Linked DNA regions of Homo sapiens: region 2 is linked to region 1. Evidence: promoter capture Hi-C in human tissues and cell types (Jung and others, 2019). All regions are on one chromosome and are shown on one strand. The core of a region is centred on a gene start or on the middle of the fragment in contact, and the rest is flanking DNA. Distances in the headings are between cores, read along the strand shown.

The links. The method cuts DNA at HindIII sites, captures the fragments that hold promoters and counts their contacts. A contact is called where the count stands out against the background at its distance.
Region 2: a fragment that was not itself captured here is called in contact with the fragment with the promoter of FSBP in region 1 in 1 of the 25 tissues and cell types used here (hippocampus).

Annotation. Positions count from the first base shown.
Region 1 is chr8:94,431,466-94,438,704 of GRCh38, reverse strand. It overlaps FSBP (fibrinogen silencer binding protein), which reads left to right and starts at 1,761. Exons shown (of 2, transcript NM_001256141.2): 1 at 1,761-2,210; 2 at 6,049-7,239. The coding sequence starts at 1,837. The coding sequence ends at 6,574. All of the region lies in intron 3 of RAD54B (RAD54 homolog B), which reads left to right. RefSeq lists an enhancer at 3,405-3,905. The HindIII fragment of the contact is 647 bases long and covers 1,410-2,056 here.
Region 2 is chr8:94,222,461-94,229,610 of GRCh38, reverse strand. It overlaps LOC105375648 (a long non-coding RNA gene), which reads left to right and starts at 1,522. Exons shown (of 3, transcript XR_928424.4): 1 at 1,522-1,572; 2 at 2,805-2,889; 3 at 4,016-4,921. The HindIII fragment of the contact is 5,893 bases long and covers 434-6,326 here.

The DNA.
Region 1 (7,239 bases), core at 512-3,011:
AGTAGTGTTTCATTCTTAACATAATACCTGTATTTCTTCTGAAAATAACAAAATAATTATCTAAAGTATATACCCTGTGTTCTGTAATACCTGTATTTCTTCTGAAAATAACAAAATAATTATCTAAATAAAGTATATACCCTATGTTCTTTCTTTGGTTCTCTTTTAATGTTCCAAAAGCTCAGAAAATGCTAGAATGATTTTGAGTACCTGTGGTCCAGTTGTTGTTGGGGCAGGTCGATTTTCTTTTTGCATCTCTATGGACAAGAATCATTTGCATTACTGATTTCTACAATTTACAGAGCTGTGAAACTGCTCAAAGACAATGAAAGGGTAGAACTATTATGGAATCAAATTACTCAGTAGCGTATACCAGACAACATCTAGCATTCCGTAGAACATCCAGCAATCTTTCACTGTTTTCTGAAAGATAATACACTTAAAGCTTTTAACACATTGGCTCACAGTGAGAGCTCAGTAAATGTAATTTGCTTCTCCATTGTTAAAAGAATGAAAAACAAGATAATTGAGAATTTATAGCATTTCTGTGGAACTACAGTTCCCTGGATAGGTGCTGTATCTAGATTCATTTTTGATTTCATTGGGTCTTGCACAGTGCCTGGGAGCATTTATATACGTGGTCAGTAATTAAAAACAATTTATTTTTCCTACCTCTTAATAACTATCACAGTTGTTCAGTAATAGTTTTATTGGATAGAACTATGTTCAAGTATGTTCTAATTTATTCCCCTATCTGGAAAAATATGTATATTGTGAGAAAATAGGTTTGTCTTGCTTACATTATTATGTATCATATATTTTCATACTGGGGTTAACAAATATATTCTAAGCACCGAAACTGGTGGCCTTGAAAATGGCTAGACTAGCTGTTTCCTTTCATAGTCCAAACTGTGTGAATATAGCTAAATAAAAAATCTGGCTCTATTATAATAGCAAATGTGATTTTGTATGTGGAGTCTTAAGGCGTGATTATACTGTTTCTCACCATGAACAGTGATTTTTTACACATGATAAGGCAGGCTAGCAAATTCACATACATTACGGCTAGAATAATCCATTGCTTTAAAAACATGATTTTTACCTGCTTTTTAGATTGAGTGTTCTATAAAAATTTTTTCTTAAGTGAAAAAAATATGCAGAGGCTAATGTAGACTGTAAAATGAAGGAGAAGCTTAGCTTTACTGTGGAGTCTGGGTCTGGGTGTAACCTAACTAGCTAGAGGATATGCAATTCCTGATTGACAGCAGATCCAGCATTATGCAGATTTTGTAAGGGAGAACACTCAGCTCAGAAACAGTGATGAGAGGCTCTGTTAGGAATTACTACATTCACTACTCATATCTTTTAGTTTTCTGTCTACTGGATTTGTAAATAAATAGCACAAAACAGTTCCTCTTTTGTTTTTATTAAAGTGATACTGCAATGCAGTTCAGTCTGTCAGCTAGGCATACATGTGTGAAATTTGATATTCTCACTAAATTAGCTAATTTTTAGCTGTGTTCCATGCTTATCTCTAGACCTTTGTGTATTAAATCCTGTCTCGAGCTGTTCCCTTTATACACAAGTGTGTTTTGCTTGTGCCTTCCTGTCTTCTTCAGTGAGAAGCTTTATGTAGGTCAGGCTTGGCTTAAGCAGATTTCCTGAACCTGCGTCAGCTTAAGCTGGAGGAATTTTAATAAACCCTCCCCTGTAGGCGTGGGCCTAAATGAGGCTAGCCTAGTTAAGCCTGATCTTTTTCTGTTTGTGAAAAGAGCTGAGCAGAGCTGAAGGCTGCATGGTGGTTTCAGAAACTGCCTACTTAATTTGAAAAGAACAATGGTAGGAAAGGCTAGATCTTCCAATTTTACCTTATCCGAAAAGCTTGATTTGCTAAAGCTTGTGAAGCCATATGTGAAAATTCTCGAAGAACACACTAATAAACATTCAGTAATAGTAGAAAAGAATAGATGTTGGGATATCATAGCAGTTAACTATAATGCAATTGGAGTAGACCGCCCTCCTCGAACAGCACAGGGCCTACGCACCCTTTATAAAAGGCTCAAAGAATATGCCAAACAGGAGCTATTGCAGCAAAAAGAGACCCAATCAGATTTTAAAAGCAATATTTCTGAGCCAACCAAGAAAGTTATGGAGATGATTCCCCAGATTTCCAGTTTTTGCCTGGTAAGAGACAGGAACCACATACAAAGGTAAGCTTTATTTTGTTTTGTTATGGAAAATTATGGCGCCTCCTATCTATTGGGCTTTGGCTTAGTCGTGATAGAGATATGCATAGTAAGCATCCCCACAACGGGAGCAATGAATAGTGTCTTTGTTTTGCATTTTTTAAAAAGAGAAAAGTGAGGCTATGAGGAATTTTTCTGTTGCATTTAAGCTACTTTTTACTGTCTTCCCCTCCCCCTTCCCTCCTGTAGTTTCTAAAAGTAAAGGTTAGGGAGGAATAAGTGGGTTGAAATTTGTGACATCACTTCATAAACTTCTTAAGCTTTAAAATTAAATTATTTAGTTTGCTTCTGAGAGATACTTTTTTTCTCATTTAAGATTACATTTCACTGGAATTTTCAATTTTATATAAAATTTATATAAAGTTAGCAGTTTCTAGAGAAATGGAACCTTGCTTTTTTATGAATTGTCATTGTCTACACTTATTGAATATATGTTAACTAACAAATATAAACAAAATCAATAAGTAAACTTGTTAATGGCATGATTGTGTATATGAAGACAGTTTAAATTATTTTTCTAACACGTTTAAAATAAAGATGAACACAACTAAAGGGAGTTAATGCCTAATTAGGGATTCAGTTTACTTAATAAAATTAAAAGTTTTTTGTTGTTGTTGTTTTTATTCCTTAATAGTCTAGTTTCACTTTGATCTTGGGTCGTATAGGAAAGAGTAAGCTTTCTCTTACTGCTTTGCAAGGATATCAAATTATGAATTTTAAAATACCCCTAAGAGCAACTGGGTTTTTTTAGAGTTAGAAGCAATTTTTTGGTTAAACTTGTCTTCTATGTAACTATTTGCCTTGGAATTTTCAAAAGTATTATCTTGCCACTAATTCAGATTGTAACCTCTGGCAAAATATAAAAATGGCAGCTACATTCTTATTCTGAACCATTTAGGGTAATTTAAACAAATTGTAAACTCCTTGTTAGTTTGAGGAGCCTTTCAAACAAAGCTTTACACAATGTGCTTTTCTATTGGTGGAAGAGGCATTATATAAGCAAATTATTGATTACTATGAAATCCCTTTGAAATTAGGAGAGAAGCAGAAAAAAACCACTTTGTAGCCAAGTGCATATGTTATTTTGGTAATTTACTAGGAAAGTATTTTTGAGCCTAGCTTCTTACCAGATACTGCTTATTTCTACTTGATAGCACAGTAAAAAAAATATCACCAGTGGGAATCCAGGACATGAATACACAGTGGATTAATTCTTGGGGCCACTGGTTAAAATGTTCACTGTGATGACAAATGATGAAATCCCAATAGCTAGATATCCAGAAAACTACGCAGTAAAATTGTTTTATACTGTGCTACTTATGCAGAATTTTCTCTCCCTTGAACCATGGAGAAAAGTGTTTTTTGCATCGCAGGTATAAAACTGTACCCTTTGGTTAGTAGGTATAGGTTTTTATAATTTGAAAACGACATGTAGAAACTGTAATTTTAGTTAGTTGCATATTTTAAAAATAACAGTGAGTAGAAGAAAAATAATATATAAATATACAAGTATCTGGTTACATTTTGACTATTTGTGTGTGTGAATATTTACAATATTCACACACAAAAAATCTTTTGGGATATGAACATTTCTCTGATAAAAATGAGTTGATTTGTACATTTCTATACCTATGGCTTAAATAATACCAATTTGTTAGGTTTTAAAGGGAAGAATATAAGAAACATGCCTTTTAAATTCTTATGTTACTGTGTCTACATTGACATTTTCTCTGTATTAGCTTATTTCTTTAATATATATATTTAATGTGCTTATATTTATTTGATTGATATCATCCTTGAATCTTAATAATCTCAGAAGTTTATAATTATTCTATAATCTTAACTATACTTCTACATAAATATGCCTGTTAATCTTACCAAACTCTTCCTTTTTAATAAGGAAAATACTAGTGTTTGCGTTAACATACTTAAAAATATATACCTGTTTTGTAAGGCTATTTATTTTCTGTAACTCACATTGACTTATGTCTTTATTTTTACCTCTTCCTAATATCAGTTTATATTTTGTGTTTTTGTAAACTGATCTTCAAAGTTCTGATTCTCAAGTCCTTCTCTGTCATTTTTGTGACCTGCTCTAAAGCTTTTTTTCTCCCTTTTTATATTGTTATGCCTTAGTTGTAATGTTTTAGCTAAAATGGAAAGGAATGTTCCAGATATGAGGCATATTTTTAATTTACTTGGTAGTATTATGTCTATGTTTATACTCTCTATTTTACATACTAATTTGAAATAGTAATTATGTGGTTTTAAAAACTTAATTTTCATATGCAATTTTAGCCTTTTCCCATTCCAGGTTTTAGCAGAGCTATTAATAGAAGCAGAGCTTGCTACTTTGAATTACATTTATAATTAATTGTTTTGTTTTTGGAAATAATAAAATGACACAAACAGAGACAAGAACAAAAATGAATTTATATAACCTACAAATAGATTTTTTATTATATACTATATATGTTTCATTTTGTCTCTTAGATAAATATCTGATATTTCTGGCAATTTAATGGCATTAGTAAGTAACGTATGGGTAGTTTTAATCTTTTTCTATGCATTCTGCTTGAACTTGTTCCAGCATTTTAATCATCCATGTAGAATGTATTCTTTTAATTATGTTTCTTATTATATGTAAAATCTTCTCTAAATAATATTAAATAAAGTATTTCCATTCATGTTCAATGATCTAATTTCCCTTTATAACTTTTATTTTTAAGTTAGGCAGAAGCATAAATTAAAAAAAACAACCTCAAGGAGCAGATATTCTTAATTCACAGCTTCACGTTATACATAAAATTATGTTTATAAAACAGAATTTTAAGGTTTATTGCATTTATAATATCATAACTTGTTATGCTGAAGCTTAAATTATGCTAAAGCTGTAGTTGTCTCCATTGGGAATGCATATTTGGTGGAAATTATGTGTAAATTTAATAAACCTTTAATATATCTGTATAGGCCATTAAAAATGTTTCATTAAAAAATCATTTAGTTTGTTTTTTTTCAGTCATTCAACACATAATGAGCACCTACTAGGTTCTAAGTACAGTACCTGCTAGGTACTGAGTATACAGTTGTGGATTAAAACCATTGCTCTTGTGAACTTTACCTGACCAGTGATTGAAAGACTTAAACAGCATCTGAGTCATATGGTTCAGAATAGGTAAAACGGAAGTTTTTCCTATCAGATAAAAGCATCTGAAATAAGAAAGTTAGGATAACCTCCAGTAGTTGAGCATATCCCAAAGCCATATACAATCTTTATGTTTTATTTTTTGGGCAAATGCAGAAATCAGTACCTCCCATAGATGGCCTTTCACTGTCCTTTTATAAGTTATGGGCCTTCATGGTTTTAAGATCAGTCCAGGAGAGCAGAAGCCTGAGGTCTAGGGCTAAGGTATGGGGATAACAAGACTGAGAATGCATTAAATGGCTCTGTACACCATTTGAAAACCTTAGGGTTGTGGGAAAGATTGGTGTCTGTTTGACAACATGAAAACTGGCTTTTCTTTTTATTTTCTTCATTGGCCTTCTATAATATTTGTAATTTCCTGCTCCTTTAAAGCACAATTTTAAAGTTAAGGATGGGGGAGATCTGTGAGTATGTATTATTGAAATCCCAATCTTAGTCACTTTAATGTATTTCAAGTGTTTAAGATTTTTTTTTATTTTGTAACTTTATAGTTTTAAAGCTTTATCATTTAATGTACATTAAATTAAAATTATGCTATAAATATACACTTTTTCTTCATTTGATTTACATATTATAATGCTTTTTTGTGTGCTATAGTGCAAACTTGGATGAGGAGGCACAGGCTGGTACCAGTTCACTACAGGTAATGTTGGATCACCATCCTGTTGCTATTACAGTGGAGGTGAAGCAAGAAGAAGACATTAAACCACCTCCTCCACTGGTTTTAAATTCTCAACAGAGTGATACTTTAGAGCAAAGAGAAGAACATGAATTAGTACATGTTATGGAAAGATCCTTGTCGCCTTCACTTTCCTCTGTTGATATGAGAATGACATCGTCTCCATCTTCTATTCCAAGGAGAGATGATTTTTTTCGGCATGAGAGTGGTGAACACTTTAGGTCACTATTAGGGTATGATCCTCAGATCCTGCAAATGTTGAAAGAGGAGCATCAGATAATTTTAGAAAATCAAAAAAATTTTGGATTGTATGTTCAGGAGAAGAGGGATGGATTGAAAAGAAGGCAGCAGCTAGAGGAAGAGCTACTAAGAGCAAAAATTGAAGTGGAGAAGCTGAAAGCAATTCGCTTACGGCATGATCTACCTGAATATAACAGTCTCTAAGTTTTTTTTTCAATCTTGCAATTTGATAATTTTGATTTTGGCCAAATTACTTTAATTTGGGAATATCCTGAAACAGAATACACGTTCTTGAAAAATGTTGTTAATCTCTATTATGGAAAAACTTTTTAGATATAATTTTCTAATTATTTTCTTTTGAGATATTAAAATTTACTGGTTGGTTGGCATGGTTATAGTTTTTATTGTCTTCTTTTTTTTTTCCCTAAGTTTAATTGTTGACCTTACAAAAGATATTTTATTCTGATCACTAAGATATACACAAATGCATATACAAACACATATTCTTTCAAAGTTCTGAGTCTTCAACATTTTTAGTTAGAACTTTGAAAGCTATAATTAGAGATTTTTAAGTCAGTCTAATTTAGGAGCTATACTAACCTAATACCAAGAAGCTTGTCTGTATGACATTGGTTTTTATGCTTTTATCTTTTGAAGGAGTAAATCCTAGGATTTTAGAGATGGAAGATATTTGGAGAACACTTTTTTTCCATCTCTGCAGTTTAGGGGTAATGAAACAGGTCCAGGGAGAACTCAATGACTTACTTAGGGTAACAAAGCTATTTATGGCAGAGCAGAGACCAGCACTTAGTTTTTCTTTGTGTAATTTCCATCCCGCTATTCGATAGAAGTAAATATCCACTAAAACA
Region 2 (7,150 bases), core at 2,131-4,630, 210 kb after region 1:
CATTGGAATGACATCTTTTAAAACCCTATACAATTTCTTTTCATCTTGAAACAGATTGCTCACCTACCTACAGACCCTGAATGAGATTACCTCCATGGTATGACTTCAGGAAGACCCCATGTTAAAAAAAAATCTCTCCCCAAAAGTGAAAACCAGAAAACCCAAATCTCACTTCAGTTTCCTTTCATCTCATTCACTGAGATGTGAAAATGAATTAGTACTTAATTTAAGGTCTTAATTTCTGATAAAATAGTAACAGTCTTGAAAGAAACTAAACCTTAATGTGACCTAAAAGAAGCAACACGGTGTCAGGGAAGGAGTACCCACATCCCTTGTGAGTATGTGATCTCATATTTTCAGTAGCCTCCTCGGCCCAGTAAAAGCCATGTATGTGGAAAATTATAGAGAAATGGCACAGATAAGATCTTATTTAGTGGGAAAATATTTAAATTATAAAAATATTTGGAAAACATTCATTTTTTTTTAAATAAATGGGGTCTTTCTCTGTTGCCCAGGCTGGAGTACAGTGGCACAATCCTAGCTTACTGCAGCCTCAAACTCCTGGGCTCCAGCAATCTTCCCACCTCAGCCTCCCAAGTAGCTGGGACTACAGGCGTGCACCACCGTGCCCAGCTTTTAAAAAAAATTTTTAGTAGAGATGGGGTCTTGCTTTGTTGCCCAGGCTGGACTACAGGTGCACACCACTGTGCCCAGCTATTTTTTTTTTTTTAAATTTTTAGTAGAGACGGGTCTCGCCTTGTTGCCCAGGCTGGACTTGAACTCCTTGCTTCAAGCAATTCTCCTACCTCAGCCTCCCAAAGCGCTGCGATTACAGGCGTGAGCCACTATGCCTGGCCAGAAGACATACAATTTTATTATAGTCTTTATTATAAACCAATGGATGTGATACTATTACGCAAAATAAGATGGAGGAATTAAAAAAATGATAAATCTCAACAGACAGCAGGCCTGACAATGCCTCATAAGCACAAAAACATTATACAATCAGAATGCCATATAATAGAGTGGTTACGTTTTTAGACTTGGGAATCAGACTTCCTGGCTTCAAATCCTGGTGGTACCAATTCACTAGCTGAGTTACTTTGTGGAAGTTTACTTATGCTCCTTAGGTCAGAGTTTCCTCACTAGAAAATAGTAATAATAGTAAGTACATCATGGCTAATGCTTTCAGATCGGAATGAGTTAATGTTATCTTTTTCCTGGTGCAGGACCCTCTGTACAGGAATCTTGTCATGGTTATCACCTTATTGCTAGCAATGTGGTTTTTGAATTAAAGCAACCATTTTCCTAGTTTCTGATCATTATCTTTGTACTAAACAGCCTGGGATTACCCCTCTGCAACTATAATTTAGGACATGCACATAGCTGCCTTGACTTAGATGGACTGATCTTGCACTGGTTTTCAGCTTGGCTCTGACATTCAGAACTTTGGCAAATGTGCACTGGTCAAGTGTTTGCAGCGAGAGGCACTGCAGAGGGGAAGGCAGGCCCTCCTGTGTCGCTTTCACTAGGAGGTGGCCGTGGCAGAACTAGCTTCCTCTGAAGTACCAGGTGGGTGACATGCCATGGACTGGGGTGTGATTCTCACTCATGTCTGCATCTAGAATGCCTGTGGTTCTACCACACACTCGGCCTCGCCCCCATTTCCCAGGCCTCTGGTCCTACTGAAGGTCAGATAATGAACTAAGGCAGGAATAGGATTCTTTTTGCCATTTGATATACAAAGTTGTGGGGTGGGTCGAAAGAGGGCACAGGAGGAAGAAAGAAGGTAGACCACGTTCCCAGAACTAATCCCAACCCAAACTTTAAAAGCACACAGCTCAAGTGCTTCTATAACAACCACCTTTTCCATTTTTCCACCCTCTGAACATCCAGCCATGAACAAGGGCAGTTCTTTTTTATCCTTTTTTTTTTTGAGATGTAGTCTTGCTCTGTCACCCAGGCTGGAGTGCAGTGGTGCAATCTCAGCTCACTGCAACCTCCGCCTCCCGGGTTCAAGCAATTCTCCTGCCTCAGCCTCCTGAGTAGCTGGAATTACGGTCACGCGCCACCACGCACGGCTAGAACAAGGGCAGTGCTAAGCATGATCCACGGACATGGTTTCCCAAGGGGAGCCCTGGAGTGGGTCGCTTAGGGTACTGTGCGGGGCCAGCTAGAGAGACAAAAGAGCAGCCCTGTCATCAGTTGCCTGCATCTCAGTAGTTCTTTGGAATAGCTCTGCCACCAACTACAAGCAACCGTTAGCCTAAGCTTGGCAGTTGGCCGACATCAGAGGCCTGGCAGATGGCCCATGTGGGAGCCCTTCCAGGACCTCAGTCGGAATCTCCAACAGATGACATTTGCCTAGAGAGTGTGGTAGGTTGGGCAATTCTTGCTCCCATAAGCATCTACAAATCTCTTTAGCAGGAGAGGTTCTGGTTTGCAGGCCATGGGCTTGGATGCATATCTGTCTGTGAGTGCTCCTTCCCACACATCCCCTAACCAGAGATGGAATCCTGGAACAAAGTGTACTACTCCACGCTCAACATCGCAGGTTTCTTCTGTTACAGACATTTGCTGACATTCTTGTTTTCCTTACCTGTGGGGCAGCATGGAGAGAAATCACAAGAGACATTTGAGGACTTGTGTTGAAATTTAGATTCTTCCATCTTTTAGCAATGGATGCTGGGGCAAGTCACTTAATTGAAAAGAGTTTCTTTATCTGTGAGATGGGGATAGAACAATATTTACCTGAGACGTTTTAAAAATGGCATCGTAGGTAGATAATGAATGCTGTTTTTCAGAATCGATGAATTATTTTTCTCATGAAAGAAGAGATGAAGTCCTACTTGGAATTGATGCAATAATGCTCAGTGCTCCTCTCCTCAGGTATGGACTTCTCCGAGGGTCTCAAGATAGCCCTGGTGGTTGGCATCACACCTTGATGCTTCCTTCCTCACTTTGTTTGTTTTTTGAGATGGAGTCTCACACTGTTGCCCAGGCTGGAGTGCAATGGCGCGATCTCGGCTCACTGCAACCTCCGCCTCCCGGGTTCAAGAGATTCTCCTGCCTCAGCTCCTGAGTAGCTGAGACTACAGGCGTGTGCCACCATGCCTGGCTAATTTTTGTATTTTTAGTAGAGATGGGGTTTTGCCATGTTGGCCAGGTTGGTCTCGAACTCCTGACCTTAGGTGATCCGCCCACCTTGGCCTCCTACAGTGCTGGGGTTACAGGCGTGAGCCACTGCACCCTGCATTTCTTCCTTACTTTGTGATAAACTTTGCTCGTGTGTGTGTGTGTGTGTGTGTGTGTGTGTGAGAGAGAGAGAGAGAGAGAGAGAGAGATGGAGACAGAGACAGAGGGAAGGAGGGAGAGATTAGAGATTATGATGGTTAATTTTCTGTATCAACTTGGCTGGGCCATGGTGTCCAGGTATGCAGTCAAACACAATTCTGGATATTTCTGTGAGGGTGTTTTGGATGAAATTACCATTTTAATCTGTGCACCGTGAGTAAAGCAGGTTGCCCTCCCTAGTACCGGTGGGCCTCATCTGATCTGTCAAAGGCCTGAAAAGAACAAAAGACTGACTTCCTCCAACAAGATGGAATTCTGCAGCAGACAGCTGGCCTTCGGACTCCAGCCAAAACGCTGGCTTTTCCTGGGTCTTCAGCCAACCAGCCCACCCTGCGGATTTTAGATTTGCTAGCCTGTAATTGCATGGGCCAATTTCTTAAAAGAAATCTTTCTGTGTAGAGATACATATCCTATTGGCTCTGTTTCTCTGGAGAGCACTGACTCAGAGAGATACGAGAGACAATGAGAACATTGGCATTCTCTCTTTCTCTCTTTTTTTCCCTGAGACAGGGTCTCACTCTGTCACCCACGCCGGCATGCAGTGGCACGATCTTGACTCTGCTTCCCAGGCTCAAACGATTCTCCAATCTCAGCCTCCTGAGTAGCTAGGACTACAGGCACATGGTGGCCACACCCTGCTAATTTTTGTATTTTTTTGTAGAGATGCAGTTTTGCCATGTTGCCCAAACTGGTCTCGAACTCCTGAGCTCAAAGCAATTTGCCCGCCTTGGCCTCCCAAGCTGGAATGACAGGCGTGAGCCACTGCACCCCGCCAACATTGGCATTCTCTGCTGCCTTCTCTGGACTGAGGAACTTCACTCAACAACTGGGCTCACAGCCCTTTTTCCGCAGAGATTTTGTGGAATAGCCTTTTTGTCTCATGCCTGCTTTTCATTTATTTGCTTGTTTGAGATAAATTAAAAGCAGAAAATGAAGGAATCGTTTGGTGATTATTAGATTGCACTACGTTTAAGTGAATCTTAACTCAAAGTAAGACCAAAGACACACACCTATTCCACTTTTGAAGATAAAAGACAACACAAGCCAGTTTCTACCAACCTAGTTCTATTATAAGTACCTATAAGATAAGCATCATGATTTAATAATTATAATATGATAATAATAACAATAGATGCCACTTAGGAGCCCTTGACAGTTTGGGCAGACACAGGCCCTTTACATATGTTATTACTTAAACATAATTGATGCCAGAGACCTTACTCAATGCATTGAGGCATCACTGCAGGCTCGCAAATTATAGTGCTTAATTTCTTCTTAGAAATGATATATTATGAAATAACTGTCTCCAGACATTTTTCTGTCATATACTTTCCAGTTCAGCTCTAAGTCTATCTTCTCCACAATCTTCAAGTGATGCAGTAAATATGTATGCTGCAGAGGGTCATGTTTGTCTAGATCCAATGGTAGAAAAGCCAGCGTGGTCTGAGAATGTGTTATTCTGGCTAATCAGGTATTCTGGTTCTATGGATTTCACATGACCATTTGTGGCTGAACAGTGTCAGATAAACTTAACTCAATAAAATACATTTAATGCTTGGCCTCTTTGGAATATAATTGTGTTTTGATGATGAGTCATAAACTTCTTTAGGATATCTGGCCGCGTTTGAGTCATGTTTGTGGTCATCAGTTCTCATTGTATTGTATCCCTGCTTTCTAATCAATAGGATGCTAAATCAATTAGCTTTTATTGCATTACTTGCCACAGGGGAAAAGGGGCTGAATTTGTCTAAAATATCCTTCATGAGCTATTTAAAAGTGATATAAGATAATGGGAAAAAGGAGCTGGGAAATACACATTCTTTTTTTTTTGTTTTTCACCAGCACCTGCCAGGCTCTCTGAACACTTTTACATTTGCTGCCTAGATAAATGACTGTGGCATGATCTGTCTTCAGAACTCACTGGATTTCCTGAATATGCTATTGTCTTTCTTGCAAGGATTAGAATTTTGACCCAGGAAATGCTCTGTGTATGACCCCTGCAGCGACACCAACCACTGGTGTCCATAAAGTGCTGCTCCATGGCAAGTGAAACGCAGACAGTGGGGAAAGAGTTTTGCAGGCAGGCTGCCCTACGTTAGAGGACAAGCTACATCACTCACCAGCTGTGTGACCTTGAATAAGTTACTCAATTTCCCTGGACCTTCTTCTTTTCTGTCAAAATGTGATGATAATATCTGTGTCATGGTTGTTGGGGCAAGAGAGTTATAAAGGTTCAACGAGGCAATTAATGTAAACTGCTTAGTACATCGTCTGGAATGATAATTTACAAATGGCATGTGGTATAATTGTTTGTAACCTTGTCATCAGCTCAGATTTCCCTGACCAATGGAGATTCAGACAAAACTCTCTAGAACTTTAAATTATGCTGCAATGATCCCCAAAATTCCTGCAGATTCTGGAGGCTTAGTCTCAAGTGGACAATCTTCCCATTTTCCCTCCATCCCCCCTCACTCCCAGGCCACTGGCTTTGTGCCTGCATGTGCTATTTCTGTTTCACTTTGCACCCACCTGGACGTGAATCCCAGCTCAGAGGAGCGATTTTACACTATTCAGATGCTGACAAGGTAGAACAGTTCTCATGCTTCAATACTCATTTTAGTACTTCGACTTCCAAATTTTTCCTTCTAATTCAGAAATGTTCACTCAAATTTTCTGTAAGGCCAGATCAAGAATGTGAAATAAAGAAAATTCAGCACATGGTACTATGGTTGAGTAGTCTCTTCTTGGGCAGCTTTCCAGTGAGAACATGTTCATTTTTATCCTTAAGGAGGTAAATTACTTTGTTATTTTATAAAAATCACCATTCACCCAATTATTGACCCAGACCCTCGGTTCAAAAACAAGAGCAGGATGTGTGTTTGTGTGTGTGTGTGTGTGATTTTTCACACTTTGATATTTTTAATAGAAAATTTAAAACATAAGCAAAAGTAGAGAGAATAATGTAATGAGTTAATGAACCCCCGTATGCCATCACCCAGCGTAGGGAAGAATCAGCTCATGCCCAGTCTTATTTTATCTCTGCTTCCCCACACCACACTAGCCACCCCGTTCAACCCAAATGGATTCTTTTGAGGCAGATCCAAGGCAGCAAACCATTTTGTCCATAACGATGTCCATATGTATTGGTAAATGATAAGAACTCTTCTTAAAAACTAAAACCACATAACCATTATCATACTTAAAAATAGATGACATTCAAATTTCTCTAATTGTATTATTTTTTTCCTTTTTTATTTTTTGAGAGTTGGTTTGTTTCAACATTCTTTTGAATTTTTTTTTTAATGTACAGGTTTCTTCTCTCCTTTGTTTTTCAGTTTATATATGGAAGAAGCAGAGGCATTGTCCTGCAGTTTCTCACATTTGGTATTTTGCTGATTGCAACCCTGAAGTGCATTTCATCTGCAACCGTTTTTTTCTGACCAGCGTTTCTTATAAATGCTAGACTCTAGAATTGGAAGTTTGAGCTGATTCAAGTCCAACTTATTTGCCAAGAATCCTCCATTAGAAGTATCGCATACTTCTCTTAGGAGACGCATACGGACCAGTTGTCTCTGTGATGCAGCAGCTGCTGATGGTCTTTGTTTACATCCATTATTTCAGTAGGGGTTGCAAAATGGCAATATTTTAATTCTATCATTCCTTAATTTATTATTTGAGAGACTTACATAAAGAGAAACTTTACCTTGAAAAATTACCCTGATACACTGTTTATACAGCAAGGACAGGCAAAACCCTTGATTCCTGCCCCGTATTTTCATGTTTATAATGTGGTTCC